Regions from separate parts of the Homo sapiens genome. Here all the other regions are linked to region 2. The links are contacts of gene promoters, found by promoter capture Hi-C in blood cells and fetal thymus (Javierre and others, 2016). All regions are on one chromosome and are shown on one strand. Each heading gives the region's core, a stretch centred on a gene start or on the middle of the fragment in contact. The rest is flanking DNA. Distances are from core to core; before and after follow the strand shown. Region 1 overlaps NEMF (nuclear export mediator factor). Region 2 holds the start of POLE2 (DNA polymerase epsilon 2, accessory subunit). Region 3 overlaps KLHDC2 (kelch domain containing 2).

Region 1 (4,121 bases), core at 691-3,190, 120 kb after region 2:
CTATGTGAAAGTGCACTGCCCTCAATAAAAATATACATGAAGAAGATATGACAAACACTAAACTTGTCACACCAAGGCAAAAATTTCTTTACTTCATAGCAGACTTCACATAGGAAATCCGAGTAATTTGTTTTTGTTCTAAGAGTATTTGTAAACTGTCTCAAACCTGTCTCCATAATCCATTGACAAGTCTAGTGATATTTTTCCTGTCAAGACATTACCTCTTATCATGAAGCTTCCTGTTGTCAAATATTCTCCAGTTGGTGCTGTTTTAGATACCTGAAGAACACAATAATACATTATATTCTTATTTAAAAAAATACTCTAGTTTTCTTTTTCCACTTGAGGAGAAAGTAAAGTCAGAGTCAAGTAAGCCACACTGTCTTCTGAAAAGTTTATAATTTCGTACAAATTCTCAATACTAAAGGGAAAGATACCCCTTTAATGACAGATAAGCCTTTGGAAGTAACAAAGAAAAAAACAAAGAATCCACTACATCAATAATTTTCTTTCTTTTTTTTTTTTTTTGAGATGAAGTCTCACTCTGTTGCCCAAGCTGAAGTGCAGTGGCACAATCTCGGCTCACTGTAACCTCCACCTCCTTGGTTGAAGTGATTCTCCTGCCTCAGCCTCCTGAGTAGCTGGGACTACAGGCACGCACCACCATGCCCAGCTGATTTTTGTATTTTTAGTAGAGACGGGGTTTCACTATGTTGGCCAGGCTGGTCTTGAACTCCTAACCTCATGATCCGCCTGCCTCGGCCTCCCAAAGTGCTGGGATTACAGGCGTGAGCCACTATGCCCGGCAATAATTTTCAAATGCCATGGACGACAGCCAGAACTGGTCCACTCATCTCTTCCAGCATGAGATGTAATGAGAAAACTAAGGATAGGTTAATGAGCTTATCATAAAGCTATGTTTACTAAAATAAAGCTCTATTTATTAAATAAAATCCTTGTCTAAGATACTGTTTTTGATAATAAAGTTTTGCCTTTTTTTTTTTTTTGAGACAGAGTCTCACACTGTCACCCAGGCTGGAGTGCAGTGGCTTGATCTTGGCTCACTGCAATCTCCACCTCCCAGGTTCCAGAGATTCTCCTGCCTCAGCCTCCCAGGTACCTGGGATTACAGGTGCGCACCACCACGCCCGGCTAATTTTTGTATTTTTTAGTAGAGACGGGGTTTCACCATATTGGCCAGGCTGGCCTTGAACTCCTGACTTCATGATCTGCCCACCTTGGCCTTCCAAAGTGCTGGGATTACAGGCATGAGGCAAAAGTAACCTTTGTCTATATGAAATAGCAGATTTTTAAAAATATATCCTATTTTGGCAAAACAGAAAGTGAGTAAACTTATCCCATAATTTAAAAAAATTTTGGGGCCAGGTACAGTGGCTCACACCTGTAATCCCAGCACTCTGGGAGGCCAAGGCAGGTGGATTGTGAGGTCAGGAGTTCAAGACCAGCCTGGCTAAGATGGTGAAACCCTGTCTCTACTAAAATTAGCCAGGCGTGGTGGTGGGTGCCTATAATCCCAGCTACTCGGGAGGTTGAAGCAGAGAATTGCTTGAACCCAGGAGGCAGAGGTTGCAGTGAGCCGAGATCACGCCATTGCATTCTAGCCTGGGTGACAGAGCAACATTCCATCTCATAAAAAAAAAAAATTTATACATCTGTGAAACCCCCAAATCTTGAGAGTATCTTTATTAGTCATAGTTATTAAAATAGCAAGGGGCCAAGTGTGCTAGCTCATGCCTGTAATCCCAGCATTTTGGGAGGCGGAAGCAGGAGGATCACTTGAGGCCAGGAGTTTGAGACTGGCCTGGCCAACATGGCAAAACCCCATCTCTACAAAAATAGAAAAAGTAGCCAGGTATGGTGGGACACTCCTGTAGTCCCAGCTACTCAGGAGGCAGAGGCAGGAGAATCGCTTGAACCCAGGAGGCGGAGGCTGCAGTGAGCTAAGATTGCACCACTACACTCCAGCCTGGACAACAGAGCAAGACTCCATCTCAAAACGAACAAACAAACACAAAAAACCAGCAAGGGATTAAAAACACTAAATTTCATTCTAAAAAATTTCTTAATGAAAGAATTAAAACCACTTTTATAACAGCACTGAGGTAGCAATTTATAATCCCCCTATATGACAATATCACAGCACAGCATATAATATAAAAAGATATAAAAATGAAACTAAATCTAAGGGAGTATAATGAAACTGAATTCTTTTTATCCTACTGTACAGCTTTAGGAACTTATAAAAGTACATCATCATCAATTATAATTCTCAAAAGTATGATAAGAAATCAATAGCAATGTGAGGTCAAATATAGAATGAAGTATCACCAAACTCAACAGCACTGGCCAGGCACCATGGCTCATGCCTGTAATCTCAGCATTTTGGGAGGCTGAAGCAAGAGGACCACTTAAGGTCAGGAATTCGAGACCAGCTTGGCCAACATGGTGAAACCTCATCTCTATAAAGAAAAAAAAAAATGCAAAAAAACCCCAACAACATCATTAACCACAAAGAAGGGCAATTAATAAAAACAAGTGAATTTAAAAAAAAAAACAAACAGGATATGCCTACTTTTCTGGAAGTGCCCAAGAGAATTCAGAATATTCCAACAAAGATGAACAGAAGAAAGGCCTTTTAGGTCAGTATGCCAATAATAATCAATAATAACTGGAACACTCTTTATCCTGTATAATTGTGTGGATCACTCTCTCTTCATTTACCTCTCTGCTCAAATCCTACCTTCCTAGAAAGGTTCCCCCAATACTTCATCCAAAACGGTATCCCCTATCACTCTCTATCCCCTTCCATGCTTTTAAAAACACTATTTTATGGCACTTATTACCTGACATTATGTACATATTTTCCTCTACCAAAAAGAGTTAGCTCTATTGAGCCTTGTCTGCTTTATTTACTTCTATACTCTCAAAATTTGGCACACAGTAGCTCTTAGTAAATTAAGAAAAAGGACAAGAGCCCTTATTACCTGATGATGGTACACCCACCAAGCACTAGTGATAACTCGTGCATCCCAAGCAGCACTGTAGCAAAGTGCCATTGTGCCAGCTTCAGTCAAGGTCCGTGGGGGGATGGGTTCTCCTAGAATAACAATGCATAATGTTTCAATACCAAAGTATGGACTTTCTCCAGAGCAAGATATGAAAATCACATGCCGCATGACAGGGTCAATGATATGTGTATATATATATATATATATATATATTTTTTTTTTTTTTTTTTTTTTTGAGATGGAGTTTCGCTCTGTTGTTCTGGCTGGAGTGCAATGGCGCAATCTCAGCTCACTGCAACCTCCGCCTCCCGGGTTCAAGCAATTCTCTGCCTCAGCCTCCCGAGTAGCTGCAATTACCAGCGCCCGCCACCATGCCCGGCTAAATTTTTGTATCTTTAGTAGAGATGGGGTTTCACCATCTTGGTCAGGCTGGTCTTGAACTCCTGACCTCATGATCCACCCACCTCGGCCTCCCAGAGTGCTGGAACTACAGGCATGAGCCACCGAACCCGGCCGGTCAATCACATATCTTAAATACTAATACATTTTTACTTCACCATTATAAAAAGTTACTATTTTAATTAAAAATGTATTTTTAATACTCCTATTTACAGAGCAAGCTTTTAAATGACCTACGTAAATAAAACATGTCAGAGAAGAAATATCCTCTCACATCAATAATTCTAACTTCACTCCAGAAAAGATAATTTAGAGAAATCCATTTAAAGTTTGAAGACTTCCAAAATTAAAATAGATTGGCTGAATCATGAACATGAAGAGCATATATGAATAACATGTCCCTTATGGTTAGATTTCAAATATTTTTAAATTGGGGTATAATTCACATGCCATAAAATTCACCCCTTTAAAGTATACAATTCAGTGGCTTTTTGTATATTCATAATGCTGTGTGACCATGACCATCAATACTATTTAATTCCAGAATATTTTCATCATCCCAGAAAAGAAACCCTATATTCATTAGCAGCCACTCCCCATTTTCTCCTCTGTACCCAGCCCCTGGCAATTACTAATCTATTTTCTGTCTCTATGGTTTTGCCTATTTTGGACATTTCATACAAATGTAATCAT
Region 2 (3,922 bases), core at 496-2,995:
GGACAACATTTGAGATGATCCATCTTGACTGCAACCTTGTGAAAAGACCCTGAAGTTGAGGACCCAACTAAGCCACACCTGAATTCCTAACCCACAGAAAATTTGAGATAATGTGTACTGTTTTAGCCTTTAAATTGTGGGGTAATTTGTCACGCAGCAATAGAATACATTATCTGCCCCCTACAAAGCTCTTGCTCTCTATTGCACCCCCTTACCCCAGCACGGTGCTTTGCAGCTAACAGATTTAAGTATACTTATGACTGAAATAATTAATGAACAAAAGCTTAATATTAGGTCAAATTCTAAGCGAAAAGAAAGTTAATTCATCAGTTCCTCATGCTTTCAAAATGTCAAGGACCAATTGAACAAAATTCATTATTTTCTCCCAAGGCATCTCCCAAAGCACAGTTAAAAGTCCCATAAAACTCACAAAACCAACCAAAAATCTACACACACAAAAGCAATAAAAACTGATACAGAGAGGTATATCCAATCCAGCAGGTATTTCAATATGTATAAAATATTGTGTTCTAGGTCAGGCGCAGTGGTTCACGCCTGTAATTCCAGCATTCTGGGAGGCCACGGCGCGAGGACTACTTGAGCCCAGGAGTTCAAGACCAGCCTGGGCAACATAGCCAGACCCCGTCTCTAAAAAACATACAACAACAAAAAATCAGCCAGGTATGGTGGCCCATGCCTGCAGTCCCAGCTACTTCAGCCCAGGAGGTTGAGGCTGCAGTAAGTCAAGTTCGCATCACTGCCCTCCAGCTTGGGCGAGAGTGAGACCATGACTCAAAAAAAAAAAAATACATATATATATATACACACACACCACACACACACACACACACACACACACACACACACACGTACATATAGAACTCTAAAACACGGAGCAGATTTAATGAGAGAAATCTTGGGAAGGTTCATATGTTCTATAGGTCCTCAAAAACACGGATATGCCCAGGAAACCTGACTTTCACATAAATTGGCAACTGCAGACGTGCAAGTGGGCTTTCTCGGGTCTCTCATCTTATGTCTCAGCAACCTTCCCGGGAGCCTGAGAGCTGTCCAGGTCACAATGTTGATAACCGGCTGCCATAGATAGGTTGCAGCTTCTCGGGCTCAGTTTGACATGTGCAGAAGAGCCTCGGCCCGCCTAGAAGAAACATTAAACTCCTCGCATGGGTCGGGGAAACCAAAGAAGGCACGGCAGCCTCAAGATCCACCTCGCTTCTTAGAACTTTTTTTTAATGGAGTCTCTCTCTGTCGCCAGGATGGAGTAGAGTGGCACGATATCGGCTCACCGCAACCTCCTCCTCCCGGGTTCAAGCGATTCTCCTGCCTCAGCCTCCCAACTAACTGGGACTACAAGCGCGCGCCACCACGCCCAGCTAATTTTTGTATTTTTAGTAGAGACGGGGCTTCACCATGTTGGCCAGGATGGTCTCGATCTCCTGACCTCGTGATCCGCCCGCCTCGACCTCCCAAAGTGCTGGGATTACAAGCGTGAGCCACCGCGCCCGACCGCTTCTTAGAACTCTGAAATTTAAGGTCAAGCCCCCTCTCGGCGCGCGGGGAGCCGCCGCGGTGCGTCCCGCTGCCGCACCAGGCAGACGGGCCCCAGCTCTTCCCTCTCGCCCTTCAAGCTGCCCGAGCCCACTCACCCACGGAGCAGCAAGCCCCGCAACTTGAAGGCGGAGAGCGCCCGGCTCCGCAGCCGCTCCGGCGCCATATTTGCGATTTGGCGCCACCGCCGCAGCTCCGCCCCTTCCCGGGCGCGCCCCTCCCAGCTCCGGCCTCGGCCCTGGCCCGCGTGGCGCTAAACCCTGTTAAGATCCCTGCTTGGTCTCCGCTGCCTGCGCCGCAGCAACTCAGACCTTACAGTTCGCAACCCCGGACCGAGTAGGCTGAAAGTGGAGACCACCTCGCGCTCCTTTGCTGCCGGGAAACTGAGGGCCAGAGCGTCTTCCCTGGTGTCGGGCTGCGTTGAGCCAGCCACAGCGCTCTCACCGCTGCCCTAGACATTGCAGGACTGCGGCCGAGCTTCCCGGACACAGGATCCCCCTTCTTTCGAGGCCATGAGAGCTGTTGGGTTCCCTACTTCGCACAAGCTCTGGAAATACTGTGCCTCGACATTTACCGGAAGCTGTTATAAATCTCCATCGCTCCCACCTACCCCGATTTTTATTTAACTTGAGGGCTTCGTATGCGCCATGCACTGTCATAAGCACTTTAAATGTGTGAATTCATGTGTTGCTCATGACAGCCCAGTGAGCTGTCTACTGTCTTTTCCACAACAGCCTCATTTTACAGATGAGAAAACTGAGACACAAAAATGGTAAAGGACTTGCTCAAGATGAAACGACGAGTTAAATGGTGTAGTCAGGATTTGAACTCAGTTATTCTGATTTCAGGTGGACTGTCAATCTGCCACACTTCAAAACGCTTGCTCCAATGAGTTGACTAACCCGTGGAGTGCTTATAAGTAAACACGCGGCTTATAAAACAGGAGGATGATTTCACAGTACCAATATAAAGTGACCTCCAACGTATACGGGTTTTTTTCTTTTTTAAAAAAAAGCGAAGTTTAATGAAGGAAGGGAAACAAAAGTATATGTATTTGTTTTTGCATTTTAAAAACCTCTGGGCCCGGGCGCGGTGGCTCACATCTGTAATCCCAGAACTTTGGGAGGCCGATGCTGGCAGATCACTTGAGGCCAAGAGTTCGAGAACAGCCGGGCCAACATGGTGAAACCCCGTCTCTACCAAAAAAAAAAAAAAAAAAAAAAAATTAGCCAGGCGTGGTGGCGCGCGCCTGTAATCCCAGCTCCTGGGGAGGTTGAGGCAGGAGAATCTCTTGAGCCTCGGAGGCGGAGGGTGCAGTGAGCCGAGATCGTGCCACCACTCCAGCCTGGGCAACAAAGCAAGGCTCTGTCTCAAAAACAAAAAAAGCCGGGCGCAGTGGTTCACGCCTGTAATCCCAGCACTTTGGGAGGCCGAGGTGGGCGGATCATCTGAGGTCAGGAGTTCGAGACCAGCCTGACCAACATGGAGAAACCCCGTCTCTACAAAAATACAAAAAAATTAGCCAGGCATGGTGGCGCATGCCTGTAATCCCAGCTACTCGGGAGGCTGAGGCAGGAGAATTGTCTGAACCCGGGAGACAGAGGTTGCGGTGAGCCGAGATGGGGCCATTACACTCCAGCCTAGGCAACAAGAGTGAGACTCTGTCTCAAAACAACAGCAACAACAACAACAAAACAACTCTGGAAGGTTAAATCAGAGACCACAAAAATGGTTAACTACAAAGGGGTGAGGGGATAGGGATGAAAGTGAAAACTTTCTTTACAGTGAGACTTTTAATCCATGTGCATGTTTTACATATTCAAAAAATAGAAAATAAAAAGGTGAGCTTAAAATTGAATGCATACTAAAACTAATACACCTAATTGTATATTAAATTGGTAACATAACATCACAAGTGATTTTTGAACACAGTTCTCTTTATTTAGTGAAATATTTTTCAAAGACAAAAAGTACAAAGAAATTTTTAATTTTTATGTAAGAAAGGATAGGAAATACGAATAGAAAGACATATAGTTAATTCTCATTACTGTACCTGTGATAGTTAGATTTTATAAGTAGCCACCAACAAATAATTATTGAATACTAAACCATTCCTACTAGGGGAAGTACAGAATTAGGTTCCTGTGAGCCTCTGGTGACAATGTTTTCATCAACTGATCAACATATAACCTTGTTTTGTTTTTTTTTTTTTTTTTTTTTTGAGACGGAGTTTCGCTCTGTCGCCCAGGCTGGAGTGCAGTGGCGCGATCTCGACTCACTGCAAGCTCCGCCTCCCGGGTTCACGCCATTCTCCTGCCTCAGCCTCCCGTGTAGCTGGGACTACAGGCGCGCG
Region 3 (3,643 bases), core at 853-3,352, 94 kb after region 2:
AATTCCACAAGGCATATGCCCAGTTGGTCGATCTTGGCACTCACTAACACCAGTTTCTTCAGATCATCTTTTTCTCTTTGGAGGATTTACCACTGATAAACAGCCACTAAGTAAGTCCTTGAAAAATATGATAATGAAATCATCATATATCATCCATATCTAATAGCTGAAAATGAGTCTATTAGAGACTGATGAGACGGCTTATAGGGTTGGTTGGAAGGTTTGAAATTAATTTTGATCCTGTAACATAGCTGTAATTGTACTATATGGCATACTTCTGTTCAATAAAGAACCTGGAGCACTTAAGAGCCCTGCTGAAGGGCTACAACATGCAAAGGGCTTACTTGGCTAATTGCAGGGGGGGGAAAAAAAAGAAAATATACTCTCTGTATCTGCTCATGATCTATTACCTTTCTTGCCAAAGCTGTGCCCTTTAAATGTCAATGTCATATTGACAGACTAACATACTTCATTTCTTTGCTTGAATCAGGTGATGCCTGGACTTACTGCATCAGTAAAAATGAATGGATACAATTTAATCATCCATATACCGAAAAACCAAGGTATTTAAAAGCAATTCATATACTGAATATGCATAAGACATAAGAATTGAGGTTTTGGCTGCATTATATCCAGCATTCTTATTTATAAAAATCTCAGCATTCACTAAGGTTTGAAATACTTCTCAAAGAAAAGAAAACCAATGTTATCCTAGTATCGAATGATCTCCTTTCCGTCATCTGTGCATGAAGAGTAGGGCTGGATTTTTATTTTTGCTTCTTCCTTCTGTTATAAAATTGACACATAGTTAAAATATACAATCAAGCTTTTCACTTCAATGAGTTGAACTGCATCTAAGTTTATTAAAAATGAGGGTCGGCCAGGCGTGGTGGCTCATGCCGGTAATCCCAGCACTTTAGGAGGCTGAGGCAGGTGGATCACCTGAGGTCAGGAGTTCCAGCCTGGCCAACATGGTGAAACCCCGTCTCTAGTAAAAATGCAAAATTAGCTGGGCGTGGTGGCGTATGCCTGTATAATCCCAGCTACTTGAGAGGCTGAGGCAGGACAATTGCCTGAACCAGGAAGGCAGAGGTTGCAGTGAGCTGAGATCGTGCCTTTGCACTCCAGCTTGGGCAACAAGAGTGAAACTCTGTCTCAAAAAAAAAAAAAAAAGGGGGTAGAGGTGCTGGAATGGGTAAAATGTTTAAACCTTAATCACATGGGAGGCGAGGTACAGTGGGATTACAGGATTACAGCTGTAATCCCAGCACTTCTGGAGGCTGAGGCAGGCAGAGTGCTTTAACCCAGGCATTCAAGACCAGCTTGGGCAACTTGGCAAAACCCCATCTCTACAAATAATAGAAAAATTAGCTAGGTGTGGTAGCATATGCCTGTAGTCCCAGCTATTCAGGAGGCAGAGGATGTAGTGAGCTGAGATTGCACCACTGCACTCCAGCCTGGGTGATAGAGCAAGACTCTGTCTCTTAAAAAAAAAAAAAATACATGGGGAAAAAACAAGAACTGTCAATTAGACTTGCAGTAGCACTGTATAACAAAGATGAAGAAATCAAATCATCCAAAAAAAGCTTATTAAACACTGATAATTTTCTCTTGTTAATCTCAGAACAAAATGCTAAAGGAAATGATACAGTCAAAATTCATGTTCAAAGCCTGCATTTTTTCCCCAAGTATCTAAACCAAGTATAGTCATGCAAGTAAGACTTCATTTGCACAAATGATCTCTCCATAAAACTACCAGGCTTTCTGAGACTTTATAGTTTACTCAAGCAGGGCTTTCACCATCCCTCAGACGTTCTGTGTAAGGCCAGTTGGCCCTACCTATGGAAGAAGAAGGCATATACTACTCAGCTCCCATACGATTTTTATTGCTAACAAAGACCTAGAGAACAGATCGTTCAGTTCAAACTCCTCATTGCATAAATGAGAACGACCAGAGAGAGAAAATAATATCCAGATAAAATAGATATTGATTGATCTGCTTTTGCTACTTTCCCTTAAGATTTTACTTCTCGCCATGATGTTTTGGTCTGAACTACCTTAAGATCGCTAGTCTTTATTTCATAGCTCTATTCTGTAGTATAAAATGGCCAACTGGTGTTCTGGGTGGCTTCAAACTCGTTTTTGTTTTAAATGCAGGTTATGGCACACAGCTTGTGCCAGCGATGAAGGAGAAGTAATTGTTTTTGGTGGATGTGCCAACAACTTGCTTGTCCATCACAGAGCTGTAAGTATACTACCTTCACATTATTACTGAAACTTACTTGCAAAGCATTTGCTTTTAAATGTGTTCTTCCTATTTATTTTTCAGGCACACAGTAATGAAATACTAATATTTTCAGTTCAACCAAAATCTCTTGTACGGTAAGTAACTTTGTACTTGGCACTTAGATTATTTAAAATTGTGTTTCCTAAGACTTAGCACTCTCGAAAAACTAGGTTTATGGATTATTTAAGGGCAATAAAACTTCATTGCTATAACCAGTTCCTATGAAAATCTTTGAAGAAAGAAAGAGGGATGTTTTATGTAGTTTTTCAAGTGAATGTACTTCCAAACAGTAAAGTGAAATTACTTTTCTCTTTCCTTGTCCACTTTCAGGCTAAGCTTAGAAGCAGTCATTTGCTTTAAAGAAATGTTAGCCAACTCATGGAACTGCCTTCCAAAACACTTACTTCACAGTGTTAATCAGAGGTTTGGTAGTAACAACACTTCTGGATCTTAAGGCTTCATAAATAATGCCTATGATCACCTTGCATGGACAGCAATCCTGTAAACATCACAGAGTGGCATCATTTGTATAATTATATGCATTGTTGTAGTTTGCACCTGTTGGTTTTAATGTGCATGTGAATGGCCTAGAGAACCTATTTTTGTGTCTAAAGTTTACAATAAATGTATTTAACACCAGTAGCTGTCCTCTATTAAAGTAAAGTAATGGTTGGGCTTTTTACCCTGAAGAATGGTTGCTACATTTTCTTTTCAGTAACTTCAGGATATGTATCTGTAGAAACATTATAGTCTTACCATCATCAAAATGCTGAAGTCATTTTTTGAAAACATTATAGATTTTTTTTTTTTTAATGGCAAGAGTAGTCTATAGTTATGTAACCTAGTGTTGTAAATACAATATAATAAAGGTTTTTTTTTTTAAACATTAATATTCACATTATGACGAAGCTGGAAAAACAAAGTGTGGAGGGACCAACAACTGTTCAGTACTTTGACCTTAATGCTTCAGTGTAGGGGCTGGAGCAAGTGGTCATGCTGAATACAGGCAGGTGCTGTCCAGTCAATTAAAAAGTTTTTTTTTAATTAATAGGTTTTATAGCTCATGAAGGAATGGAAATAATGATGACATCATTTTCCATTCTGTTAAGAGACAGAGGAAAAGTGGGTTAGAGTCTTTAGTGGTAAGCCTAAAATGCGCTTCTGGTATTATAGGTTAAGATACTCTAACGTGCTATATTGGTAATTAATTACTAAAGGTGGAAATTAAAATGGTACAGAACTGAATCAGATTACAAGGAAAAAATTAAGATCAAACCTGAAGGTCTACAAATGAATAGAAATGATTAAGCTGAGTCATGAGAATTATTACTTATATTTTACATTTTGGTCTAATAT

Evidence for each region. The method cuts DNA at HindIII sites, captures the fragments that hold promoters and counts their contacts. A CHiCAGO score of 5 or more calls a contact.
Region 1: a contact is called between a fragment that was not itself captured here and the fragment with the promoter of POLE2 in region 2, in 2 of 17 cell types (erythroblasts and megakaryocytes). The highest score is 6.3, in erythroblasts.
Region 3: a fragment that was not itself captured here is called in contact with the fragment with the promoter of POLE2 in region 2 in 2 of 17 cell types (megakaryocytes and erythroblasts); the score reaches 10.1 in megakaryocytes.

The regions. Positions count from the first base shown.
Region 1 is chr14:49,803,016-49,807,136 of GRCh38, forward strand. It overlaps NEMF (nuclear export mediator factor), which reads right to left. Exons shown (of 33, transcript NM_004713.6): 19 at 3,006-3,118; 20 at 222-279. Among named protein-coding and RNA genes, the nearest start is that of KLHDC2, 37 kb to the left of the region's middle. The HindIII fragment of the contact is 3,414 bases long and covers 234-3,647 here.
Region 2 is chr14:49,686,469-49,690,390 of GRCh38, forward strand. POLE2 (DNA polymerase epsilon 2, accessory subunit) reads right to left here and starts at 1,746. Exons shown (of 19, transcript NM_002692.4): 1 at 1,668-1,746. The coding sequence starts at 1,735. RefSeq lists enhancers at 983-1,744, 1,745-2,504 and a silencer at 1,809-1,858. The HindIII fragment of the contact is 3,892 bases long and covers 282-3,922 here.
Region 3 is chr14:49,780,213-49,783,855 of GRCh38, forward strand. KLHDC2 (kelch domain containing 2) reads left to right here. Exons shown (of 13, transcript NM_014315.3): 9 at 1-110; 10 at 491-563; 11 at 2,158-2,245; 12 at 2,330-2,382; 13 at 2,618-3,643. The coding sequence ends at 2,741. It overlaps NEMF (nuclear export mediator factor), which reads right to left. Exons shown (of 33, transcript NM_004713.6): 33 at 1,871-3,643. Among named protein-coding and RNA genes, the nearest start is that of KLHDC2, 14 kb to the left of the region's middle. The HindIII fragment of the contact is 1,037 bases long and covers 1,585-2,621 here.